Regions from separate parts of the Homo sapiens genome. Here regions 1 and 3 are each linked to region 2. The links are contacts of gene promoters, found by promoter capture Hi-C in human tissues and cell types (Jung and others, 2019). All regions are on one chromosome and are shown on one strand. The core of a region is centred on a gene start or on the middle of the fragment in contact, and the rest is flanking DNA. Distances in the headings are between cores, read along the strand shown.

Region 1 (3,471 bases), core at 623-3,122, 81 kb before region 2:
AATGTGTGAATTATATGGTTATTAGAATGGGTGTCAGGGAAACAGTGTAATATATGTAATGTGGGGGCTGATGGGGCTGGAGAAGCTGAATCCATCTGGATGATTTCTGGCACTTCTTTTAATGCTATGTCAATTATTCTTATGACCAATCACTCAAAGCTGTCTATTACCTTCTAATAATAATAATAATATTTTTCACTTAATGTTGCACCTTTCACCAGAGTATTTCAAAGAGCTTTGCAAACATTCATTAACATTTTATGAAGTGGGCAGGTAATATATAAATACCAAGTCACATGTCCCTGAATAGCAGCCGTTAATAGTTCCCTTGACACCACATTCAGGTTAGGGCAGAAACTAAAAGAGACCGTGTAAATGAGAAGTCACGCGCCATCATTACCGGCATTTACTGGGTGTCCACAGGGGCCTGCCAGAGATGCAAATATAAGTCTTATTTTCTTGTCTTTCAGTGTGGTGGGAAAGGTGGGCTGTCCTTCCTCTTACTACCTCTCATACACACGAACCCCTCTTCCGGAGACACAATGTAGACAATCCAGAATACTAGATTCTTTCAGCCTCAAGCTCTCAGATCCCATGCTAAGAGGAAGCTATCTTCACAGGGGGATAATTCTGGTTGTCCTATCCATGATCCTGACACAGGAATCGTAAGTTCTTCCACCCTATCCTCAGAACAAAATGGAATGGCTGACAGCGCACAGCAAGGGCTGGGAAGGACATGCTGTCATACTCTGGGTAAGGGGAGCTTGAACATTGAGTGCCAATGAGATTGAGTGTGAGCAGTGACCTAAGAGGCAACCACAAGGGGTCCCTAAGAGCCAAGGTTACAAGTGCCCCAGTTGAGTAGCTGGTGGGGACAGGCAGAGAAGAGGAGTCACCCTTGAACTCCTATTCTCTCTCTTTTTTTTTTTTTTTTTTTTTTGAGACATAGTCTCACTCTGTCGCCTAGGCTGGAGTACAGTGGCATGATCATGGGTCACTGCAACCTCCGCCTCCTGGGTTCAAGCTATTCTTGTGCCTCAGCCTCCCAAGTAGCTGGGATTACAGGTGTGCACCACCAGGCCTGGCTGATTTTTTTTGTACTTTTAGTAGAGACAGGGTTTCTCCATGTTGGCCAGGCTGGTCTCAAACTCCTGACCTCACATGATCCGCCTGCCTCGGCCTCCCAAAGTGCTGTAATTACAGGTGTGAGCCACTGCGCCAGGCCTGAACTCCTATTCTCTATGTAATTTGTCTATATTGGAAGATATAATAGAATTAGAATGAGAACCAACAGCACATTTTGTTCATTCCTCTTGACTTTCTCTGGGAATGTAAGCGTGTATTTACCCACATACTGGTATTAGTCAAGATATGCTAAATTAGGCTGGGCATCATCATCAAATAATCTCGAGGTGTTGACACCACAATCGTTTACTTGTTGTTCACACTAAATCCATTTCAGCCTCATATCAGACTCCCTACTAAGAGGAAGCCATCTTCATGGGGAAGAGGTGAAATTCTGGTTGCCTCTAAATGATCCTGACACGGGAATTGTAAGTACCTCAACCCCAGCTTCAGAACAGGCTCAGGTTGTTCTTGGGGACACTCGTCCTCCATGTGGTGGCTCACCATTCCAGGCTTCAATCTCGGGCGTCTCCATCCCTGCATGATCCTTCCTGGTTCACCATGGTGGGGAAAATAAGATGGAAGGTAACATACCAGCTCTTAAATGCTTTCCCCAGAGGTGACACACGTCATTTTTATTCCCAGCCTGTTGGCTAGAACGAGTCACGTCGTGCCATCCAACTAGTGGAGGGGCAGGAAATCACAGTCCTCTGTATGTTTTAGGAGGGGAGAACTGGAAACATTAGCAATGTCTGCTGCAACTATTAAGTGCTGGCTTAGTTTGGGACCAGAGGAATCTTCTTCTTTTTTCTTTTTGGAGACAGACTCTCGCTCTGTTGCCCAGGCTGGAGTGCAGCAGTGTGATTTCCGCTCACTGCAACCTCCACCTCCTGGGTTCAAGAGATTTTCCTGCCTCCGCCTCCTGAGTAGCTGGGATTACAGGGGTGCGCCACCATATCCAGCTAATTTTTGTATTTTTAGTAGAGATGGGGTTTCACCATGTTGGCCAGGCTGGTCTCGAAATCCTGACCTCAGGTGATCCACCCGCCTGGGCCTACCAAAGTCCTGGGATTACAGGCGTGAGCCACCGTGCCCAGCCGGAATCTTCTTTAGACTTCAAAGGCAATGTGGTAGAGCATAGAACAAGAGTGTCATGACAAGTGAGTTGGCTTCCCTTGCCTTGTGCTCTGTGGACACTGTCAGACTGTAGATAAATGCATCCTCAACATTAGATATCATTCAGATACGTCTAACGGTGCCATTGTGTTTCTTTCTGCACAGACCTAAGCTTTCTCCCAGTAGGTTTTCCTCTCATGCTTTCTTTCTCCTTTTCATCCATTAATTTAGAAAGGTCTTGGGTCAGCATATTCCTCTCCTACCCCACCCCCAGTTTCCTTTACACAAAGGGTGTTTTCTGACTGCAAAAACATCATGCAATGGGGAGAATCCTGTGAGCCAATATTTCTGTGTTCACTAAGATAGCCGGGCGCGGTGGCTCACGCCTGTAATCCCAGCACTTTGGGAGGCTGAGGCGGGCGGATCATGAGGTCAGGAGATCGAGACCATCCTGGCTAACACGGTGAAACCCTGTCTCTAATAAAAATACAAAAAATTAGCTGGGCGTGGTGGCAGGCGCCTATAGTCCCAGCTACTCGGGAGGCTGAGGGAGGAGAATGGCGTGAACCCGGGAGGCGGAGCTTGCAGTGAGCCGAGATCGCGCCACCGCACTCCATCCTGGGAGACAGAGTGAGACTGTCTCAAAAAAAAAAAGGAATGTTCTCTCCTGTCTCCTTTTTGAAATTTAAGAAATGATGATCATTCCGGTGATTTATGCAATATTCACTCTTGATTACCCACCAGTGCATTATCCATATTGTTTCCTAAACATTGTTGACATAATTGGGTTAGGAAGATATTTTTCACCCTAATTCACTATCCCTTCTTTAAAAGCAGAAAATTTTCTTAAGATTTTTCTTAAACCCAAAACAGATTTCATGTTCTTCATATTAGAAAGAGTATGAAGCCAAAAGGTACCGGCTCCCTTCGCTACTCACAGCCAGAAGTCTCTCCCTTCCTCCCCGACCTTCTGGGCTCAGTGGCCCCATCAGTCCTTCATTTTCTTTTGGAAGCTGGTTCAGGGAATAGTCTACTGTAGCAGAGGAAAGTCAAGGCAAAGGGGAAGGAAAGGAAAATTCCTCCATGTCACAATCAAGTTCCCGGCACCCTTTCATTCCAATTCTTTATAGCTAATCTAATTTTTTCTAGTGGGAAAAAAGGATTTGAGAGGTATAAGCGTAGGGGCAGGGGACTTTTCCACAACTTCTCAGCTATGTGATTTGGACAACA
Region 2 (3,678 bases), core at 1,173-3,672:
ACTTGGCTTTTCAAAATTCACTCTCACTCTCTCTCTCTCTTTTTTTTTTTTTTGAGATAAGAGTAAATATCTAAAAAGATTTAAAGCATGGGTATAATTACTATTCTATCAGCTCCTATGAGACCCCTAAGAGAAGATATCAGCAAAGTCACTATCTGATAATTTAGGCCACAATTTAGAGCAAGATGCTCACAGAGTGCTACCAGTAATTTTATGAACACTTAAATACATTACATCTATGTACAATACTCAGTTAAATACAATCTCAGGCAGGGGTTAGTGGTCAGCTATAATTTTAAAATTGCCTTCAACTCCACACTTAGAGTAAATGCTCATTTTATTTTTAAAAGGGTGATTCTTAAGTACTTCACTTTTCTATGAACTCAGGACGCAGACATAGGTGACTGCCCACATGAAAATCTGAAAGCTGATCATTTAAAACTTTTAAATATTTTTCCTCTGGGCACCTTCCCCTCCCCCTTCCCCCCACTTTTAAAAGCTAAATGACTAATTTGATTATTTCAGTTTTATAGAAATAATCACTTTTTGATGTAAAGGACAGCATGTCCTTTTCAATAGAAAATATACAATAGAAGTATTGTTCCCAGTCTCTTAAGGTGTTTAAGTGGTGAGGAGGATATACATTTAAAACTACATAGAAGAGGAAGCCCCCAGGTACAGGAAATTACTTCTTCAGAAGAACTAAAAGATTTCTCTCCTCTTAACTCCCCACACTGCCACCACCCCAATTTCTTTTCAAAAGCCAGGACTTATTGGCAAATTATCTGGGAGTAAAGTGGGAGGAAAACATTTCAATGCAAAATTCAGAACTGCTTTATAGAAAGGAAAGTGTGGGGAGGTTTGTTATCATTTATTTCCTCCAGTATATCATTCAATTTCAGCTGTCTCACGTCTCAGAAGTAGCTCCCCCATTTCTCACTTACGTGCCTAAGAAACATCTCCCTGGCATCTCATTCTCTTTCTCTTTCACCAGCATTTCATTATTTCTTAACTGTCCCTCTCATGCTTGTCTCCTTTTCCTAGTGATCCACGTGTCCTCATTTAGCAGTTTTCAGAAGCCAGGGAGAAACATTGCAAATAATGTTAAATATGATTAATATCTTGAATTCCTTGAAATATGACATGCATGAGTTACAATGAAACCTCTTTTATTTCCCCATGAAATGCTTTTGCATAATGAGAAAGAAAATGTCCTCTATGCCCTAATCAGCCCTGACAGTTCCTGGACTCCCAAATACTTATATTTATGGCATTATTTATTTCATCTCTAATAAATGGATTGGGGGGGGGACACAGCACCATCTGAGGAAGCTGCAGGAGAGAGGGAGACAATCTAGGGGGGAATAATACAGAAGCTGAACCAGCAAGGCAGAGAGAAAAAGCTTCCAAAGGGAAGGAGACCAGGGAAAGAGAGGCCAAAAGATGTGAACCCCCAGAAGAAAATGGGTCACCTTCCTAAGAATAAAAGGAAGGCTCTGAAAAGGAAACAAACTTCAGAGTGCAGAGATGAGGGTCCTACATCAAGGAGCATCCAGAACTCTGACCTGGAGAACGAAAAAGGAAGGCTGAAAAGCAAACCTGGGGCAGGGTATGCTGGTTGGCCTAGAAGAGGGGTGATTTGGGATAGGGAGCAATGGACCCTCTGCCCCAAAAAGTGGCTGGGAGAGACCAGGACATCTGCATCCCATGGAGGATCTTCCTCCCAACGACTGAGATCTCTCATTCAAACGGCTACTGAAATTGGGCACCCTCCAGACCCTCGCCGGATGGCGCCAGTTGCAGTGAGTAAAACAATGCAAGGAGTGAGTTCTCGTGTTTCCCTGGGCTTGCAAGTACATATACATATATTAAAAATGACACTGTTGAAAGTAATCATCACCTCAAAGGGAGGTATCAGGACATTTCCCCACTCAATTGCACAGAGGCTACTGGCTATGGGAAGTGAGGAGTTGACTTCAAATAACCTGGATGCGTCAGTGCAACACAGCCGCACACTCCCGAGTGTCTGACTTTGGGCAATTCCCTTCAACCTCTCAGAGCCTCGGTTTTCTCATCTTTATAATGGGGGGGAAATCATGGTGTCATGCACGTTCTCGGGGCCCCTACGGGAAACAAATGAAAACGTGAAAAAGTTCTACGCCTTGCGAGCTTTTATGTTCCGCATGAGCTCAGAGGCCGCGATGCTCGGGGAAAGCAGGACCCCAAAGCCCCGTAAACACCGCGCGACCACCCGGGCCAAGATCTTCAAGAGGTTCTTTTCAGAAGGATCGGAGAGCAATTCCCGATTGGTAGAAGAACTTGCTGTAATACACACGTACTCTGACGACCCCGCCCCAACGACTAGCCCCTCCTCTGTGCAACCCCGAGAGTTTGGGGTCATGCAGGGGGCGCCACGAGCTCGTTTCGGAAGCCGGACCCCGCCCGCAGCCGCAGAAGCCTCGAGTCCACATCTGGGTCTCTAAAGTCTCGCCGTAGCCAGATCCCGGATCCCCACCTTCTTCACCAGTTCCCGGGCGTCCTCCAGGTCCTCGCTTTCCCCCTTCCCCCGCTCCCCGTCGGAGGCGCGGAGCCGCCAGGCAGACCCCGCGGGCGGCTGCGGCGCCAGGCCCCGCCCCGCCCCCATTATCATTAGCAGATATTACCCTAAACACTTGCTCTTTACCTCCTTTCTCCCTCCAGGCATTGGCGAGGCAGCCTGTCAATCAGGAGCTCGGGCGGCAGCCCCCCGCGCGGGGGCTCGGCGATGCCAGCCTCAGCGACAGGCGGCGGCGGCGGCGGCCACGGCACAGACACACACCCTCCCACACGCGCGCACCAGGGCAGACCCGGCGGGCAGGCGGCGGAGGCACCCTCGGAGCCCGGCGCCCGGCGGGGAGGGGACGTGCTCCGAGGGACCGGCCCCGAGGCGCCGGATGGAGGAAGAGATGCAGCCGGCAGAGGAGGGGCCCAGCGTCCCCAAAATCTACAAGCAGCGCAGCCCCTACAGCGTCCTCAAGACGTTCCCCAGCAAGAGACCGGCGCTGGCCAAGCGCTACGAGCGACCCACCCTGGTGGAGCTGCCGCACGTGCGGGCGCCCCCGCCGCCCCCGCCGCCCTTCGCGCCGCACGCCGCCGTCTCCATCAGCAGCAGCGAGCCGCCGCCGCAGCAGTTCCAGGCGCAGAGCTCCTACCCCCCCGGGCCCGGCCGGGCCGCCGCCGCCGCTTCGTCGTCGTCGCCGTCCTGCACGCCCGCCACATCCCAGGGCCACTTGAGGACTCCGGCGCAGCCGCCGCCCGCGTCCCCCGCCGCCTCCTCGTCGTCTTCGTTCGCCGCTGTCGTCAGGTATGGCCCAGGCGCGGCGGCGGCCGCCGGCACCGGCGGCACGGGTAGCGACAGCGCCAGCCTGGAGCTCAGCGCAGGTACCAACTCTCCGCACAACTTTCCTTCCCGCCACGGCCGGGGGCAGCGGGAGGGGACCCAGGAAGGAGAAGCGGGGGGCCGCCGACACTTACCCGTGCTGGGCCGTGTCGGGATGTCGGGGCGCACCTGGGGCCTCCCCGCGCACCCGGAAACTTCGAGAGGATTCTCCAGCGCCGCCGCGCCTGGGCTTCCGACGGCGCGCGCCTAACAGGTGGCTCCGCGGCTTGGATCCCGCGCCGGGAAGCACGGCTGTGGCA
Region 3 (3,157 bases), core at 88-2,587, 80 kb after region 2:
CAAAAGGCTATATCATTTATTCTTTTTTTTTTCTCTCCTGGTAACTCACAGAACATATTTATTCATTTTCAAAAATCATTTCTACTTTAGTCTTCACAGAGTATAAACACATTTCATTATTTGGCTGGTATGTGAGTAGCAACTAATAAATATATTTAGATATACTTTTTCCTTATGTTCTTACATATAACTAACTACAGACAGAAAACTGTTTGGAGGGCTCCCATATGATCAATCCCTGCCACCTATACGCAAGCCCTTGTGTGATCTCCTCTCACTGAATGTGGGCTATAACTACCAAATATGGCAAAGTGATGAGATGTCATTTCCAAGACCAGGTGACTAACCTGTGACTTTTGTCTTGTTCACACTCGCTCTCTATTGCCTTATCAATTTGCACGCTTTGATTAAGCAAGCTGCCATGTTGAAGAGGCCCATTTGGCAAGGAGCTAAATCTTGCGAACAATCATGTGAGTAAGGTTAGAAGCAGCCCCTTCCCCAGGAGATGACTATAATCCCAGTCAACACCTTGATTACAGTCTATGAGAAACCCTGAAGTCGAAGACCCAGATAAGCTGTGCCCTGATTCCTGACTCACAGAAACTGTAAGATGGTAATATGTTGTTTAAACCACTAAGTTTTGGGCCAATTTGTCACACAGCAGTAGGTAACTAATATACTGTTTAAAAAAATTGTATGAATTTTCTGGATTACTAACGTATTTTTTCCAATAATTGAATCCACAGATATTCACTCTTCCACAAAATTTCGAATTTGCCAGTCTTTCAGTTTATAGCTCTTTTTTAGACATTACTTATTAAACAATATATACAAAATTATAAACATGTATGTAGCAACAACAGAGCACCAAAATATATGATGCCAAAACCAAGAAGAAATGAAGGGAGGAAGAGCTAATACAACAACAATAACTAGAGACTTCGATACTTTCAGTAACGGATACAGAGGCCGGGCACGGTGCTCACACCTAGCACTTTGGGAGACCGAGGCGGGTGGATCACCTGAGGTCAGGAGTTTGAGACCAGCCTGGCCAACATGGCCAGTGATGAAACCTCGTCTCTCAGGAGTTTGAGACCAGCCTGGCCAACATGGCCAGTGGTGAAACCTCGTCTCTACTAAAAATACAAAAATTAGCTGGTCATGGTGGTGAGCACCTGTAATCCCAGCTACTTGGGAGGGTAAGGCAGGAGAATCACTTGAATCTGGGAGGCGGAGGTTCCAGTGAGCCAAGATCGTGCCACTGCACTCCAGCCTGGGCAACAAGAACAAAACTCCATCTAAAAAAAAAAAAAAAAAAAGGATAGAACAATAGAGCAAGAAGATAATTAGGGAAATTGAAGTCACTATAAACCAATTAAACCTAACAAACATCTACAGAACACTCTACAACAACAGCAGAATATACATTCTTCTCAAGTGCACATGAATATTATCCAAGACTATATGTAAGGCCATAAAACAAACCTTGGTAAATTTAAAAGGACAGAACTAATATAAAACATATTCTTTGACCACAATAGAACAAAATAATAAATCAATAATGGAAAGAAATCTGTGCAACTCACAAATACGTAAAAATTAAGTGACATACTCCCCTAAATAACTGAAAAGAATAAAAAAAGAAATTAGAAAATACTATTAGATAATGAAAATGGCACAATATATGGAAATGTGTGGAATGCAGAGAAAGCAATACTTAAAGGAAAATTTGTAGCTGTAATTGTCTATTTTAAAAAAGAAGAAACATCAAATTAAAAGCTTAACCTTAAGACAGTGGAAAAAGAGCAAACTAAACTGAAAGCACGCAGAAGGAAAAAAATAATAAAGATTAAAGGAGAAAGTCATGAAAAAGAAAATAGAAAAACAACAGAGAAAGTCAATTAAACCAAAAGCTGGTTCTTTAGAAAGATCAAGAAAATGAACAAACCTTTAGCTACACTGACCAAGAAAAGGAGAGATTCAAATTACAGAAATGAAAGATGAGACATTTGTACCAACACTAAAGAAATAAAATGGATTACAAAGGAATATTATAAATAGCTGTATACCAACAAATTAGGTAAATTAGAAGTAAAAGACAAATTCCTAGAATACAAGCTACTTAAACTAAGTCAAGAAGAAACAGACAATCTGAACAGATCCATAACAAGAGATATAATTACTAATCAAAAAACTACCCACACAGCAAAGCTCATATCCAGATACTTGAATTCTACCATTTAAAGAAGCTAACACCAATTATTCACAAACTCTTCCAAAAAAATAGGAGAGAACATTTCCCAACTCATTCTCTGAAGCCAGTATTATCTTAATACCAAAACCAGACAAAAACATCACAAAGAAAGGATATTAATTTGGATTATCTCACATTATGTTAATAACTCTAATACTGACTTTCATAATGCTCAACTTCTAATCTTTTTTTTTTTTTTTTTGAGACAGGGTTTTGCTATGCTGCCCAGAATATAGTACAGTGAGTGGCTATTCACAGACATGATCATTGCACACTAGCCTCAAACTCGTGGCCTCAAGTGATCCTCCTGCCTCAGCTTCCCAAGTAGCTGGAACTATAGGCATGTGCCACTGTGCCCATCTCTCATTTTCTAATCTTGTTCCAATAAGATAGTTACTTTTCAAGATTAAACATATAGGGCATAGAATATAAATCTAGTAATCATTAATATATTTTACTAATTCAGATATACGGGTCATTTTAAAAAGATTTAACTTAAAGATTTCAAGTACAATACACAAAAAAATCTTATTTTAAAGTTTGAAAAAATATAGAGCGAGTTAGTAGAAAACTGGGTTTTTAAAGGTTTGTTCTTTTATTTCATTATAAAACCACAATGCTGCTAGAATTTCACTGAAAAGCACTATTAGAATTCTGTATCTCTTCTGCTGATTATCTCCTAAGTCTCCAGTTCTTTAGTTTTACATAATTTAAAAGATAAAGATTATAAGAAAAATACTTAAAATAAGCTAAAACAAAGTCTATTTTCAAAGTAAATATAAATTATATTTAATTTGGTAATCATTGCCCAATGAACAAAAATCTTTTTAAATTTAATATATTCAATTTGTAATTGCAATGCGAATATAAGGCAACTCTACAGGTTCCATATTAAGTATTTCC

The links. The method cuts DNA at HindIII sites, captures the fragments that hold promoters and counts their contacts. A contact is called where the count stands out against the background at its distance.
Region 1: a fragment that was not itself captured here is called in contact with the fragment with the promoter of BEND4 in region 2 in 2 of the 25 tissues and cell types used here (heart left ventricle and mesendoderm cells).
Region 3: a fragment that was not itself captured here is called in contact with the fragment with the promoter of BEND4 in region 2 in 2 of the 25 tissues and cell types used here (lymphoblastoid cells and mesendoderm cells).

Annotation. Positions count from the first base shown.
Region 1 is chr4:42,232,367-42,235,837 of GRCh38, reverse strand. No RefSeq gene overlaps it. Among named protein-coding and RNA genes, the nearest start is that of BEND4, 81 kb to the right of the region's middle. The HindIII fragment of the contact is 5,397 bases long and covers 1-3,471 here.
Region 2 is chr4:42,151,399-42,155,076 of GRCh38, reverse strand. BEND4 (BEN domain containing 4) reads left to right here and starts at 2,422. Exons shown (of 6, transcript NM_207406.4): 1 at 2,422-2,545; 2 at 2,701-3,420. The coding sequence starts at 2,934. RefSeq lists silencers at 2,730-3,049, 3,250-3,339 and an enhancer at 3,105-3,678. The HindIII fragment of the contact is 6,033 bases long and covers 1-3,678 here.
Region 3 is chr4:42,070,975-42,074,131 of GRCh38, reverse strand. The region is part of intron 15 of SLC30A9 (solute carrier family 30 member 9); the gene reads right to left. Among named protein-coding and RNA genes, the nearest start is that of BEND4, 80 kb to the left of the region's middle. The HindIII fragment of the contact is 7,764 bases long and covers 1-3,157 here.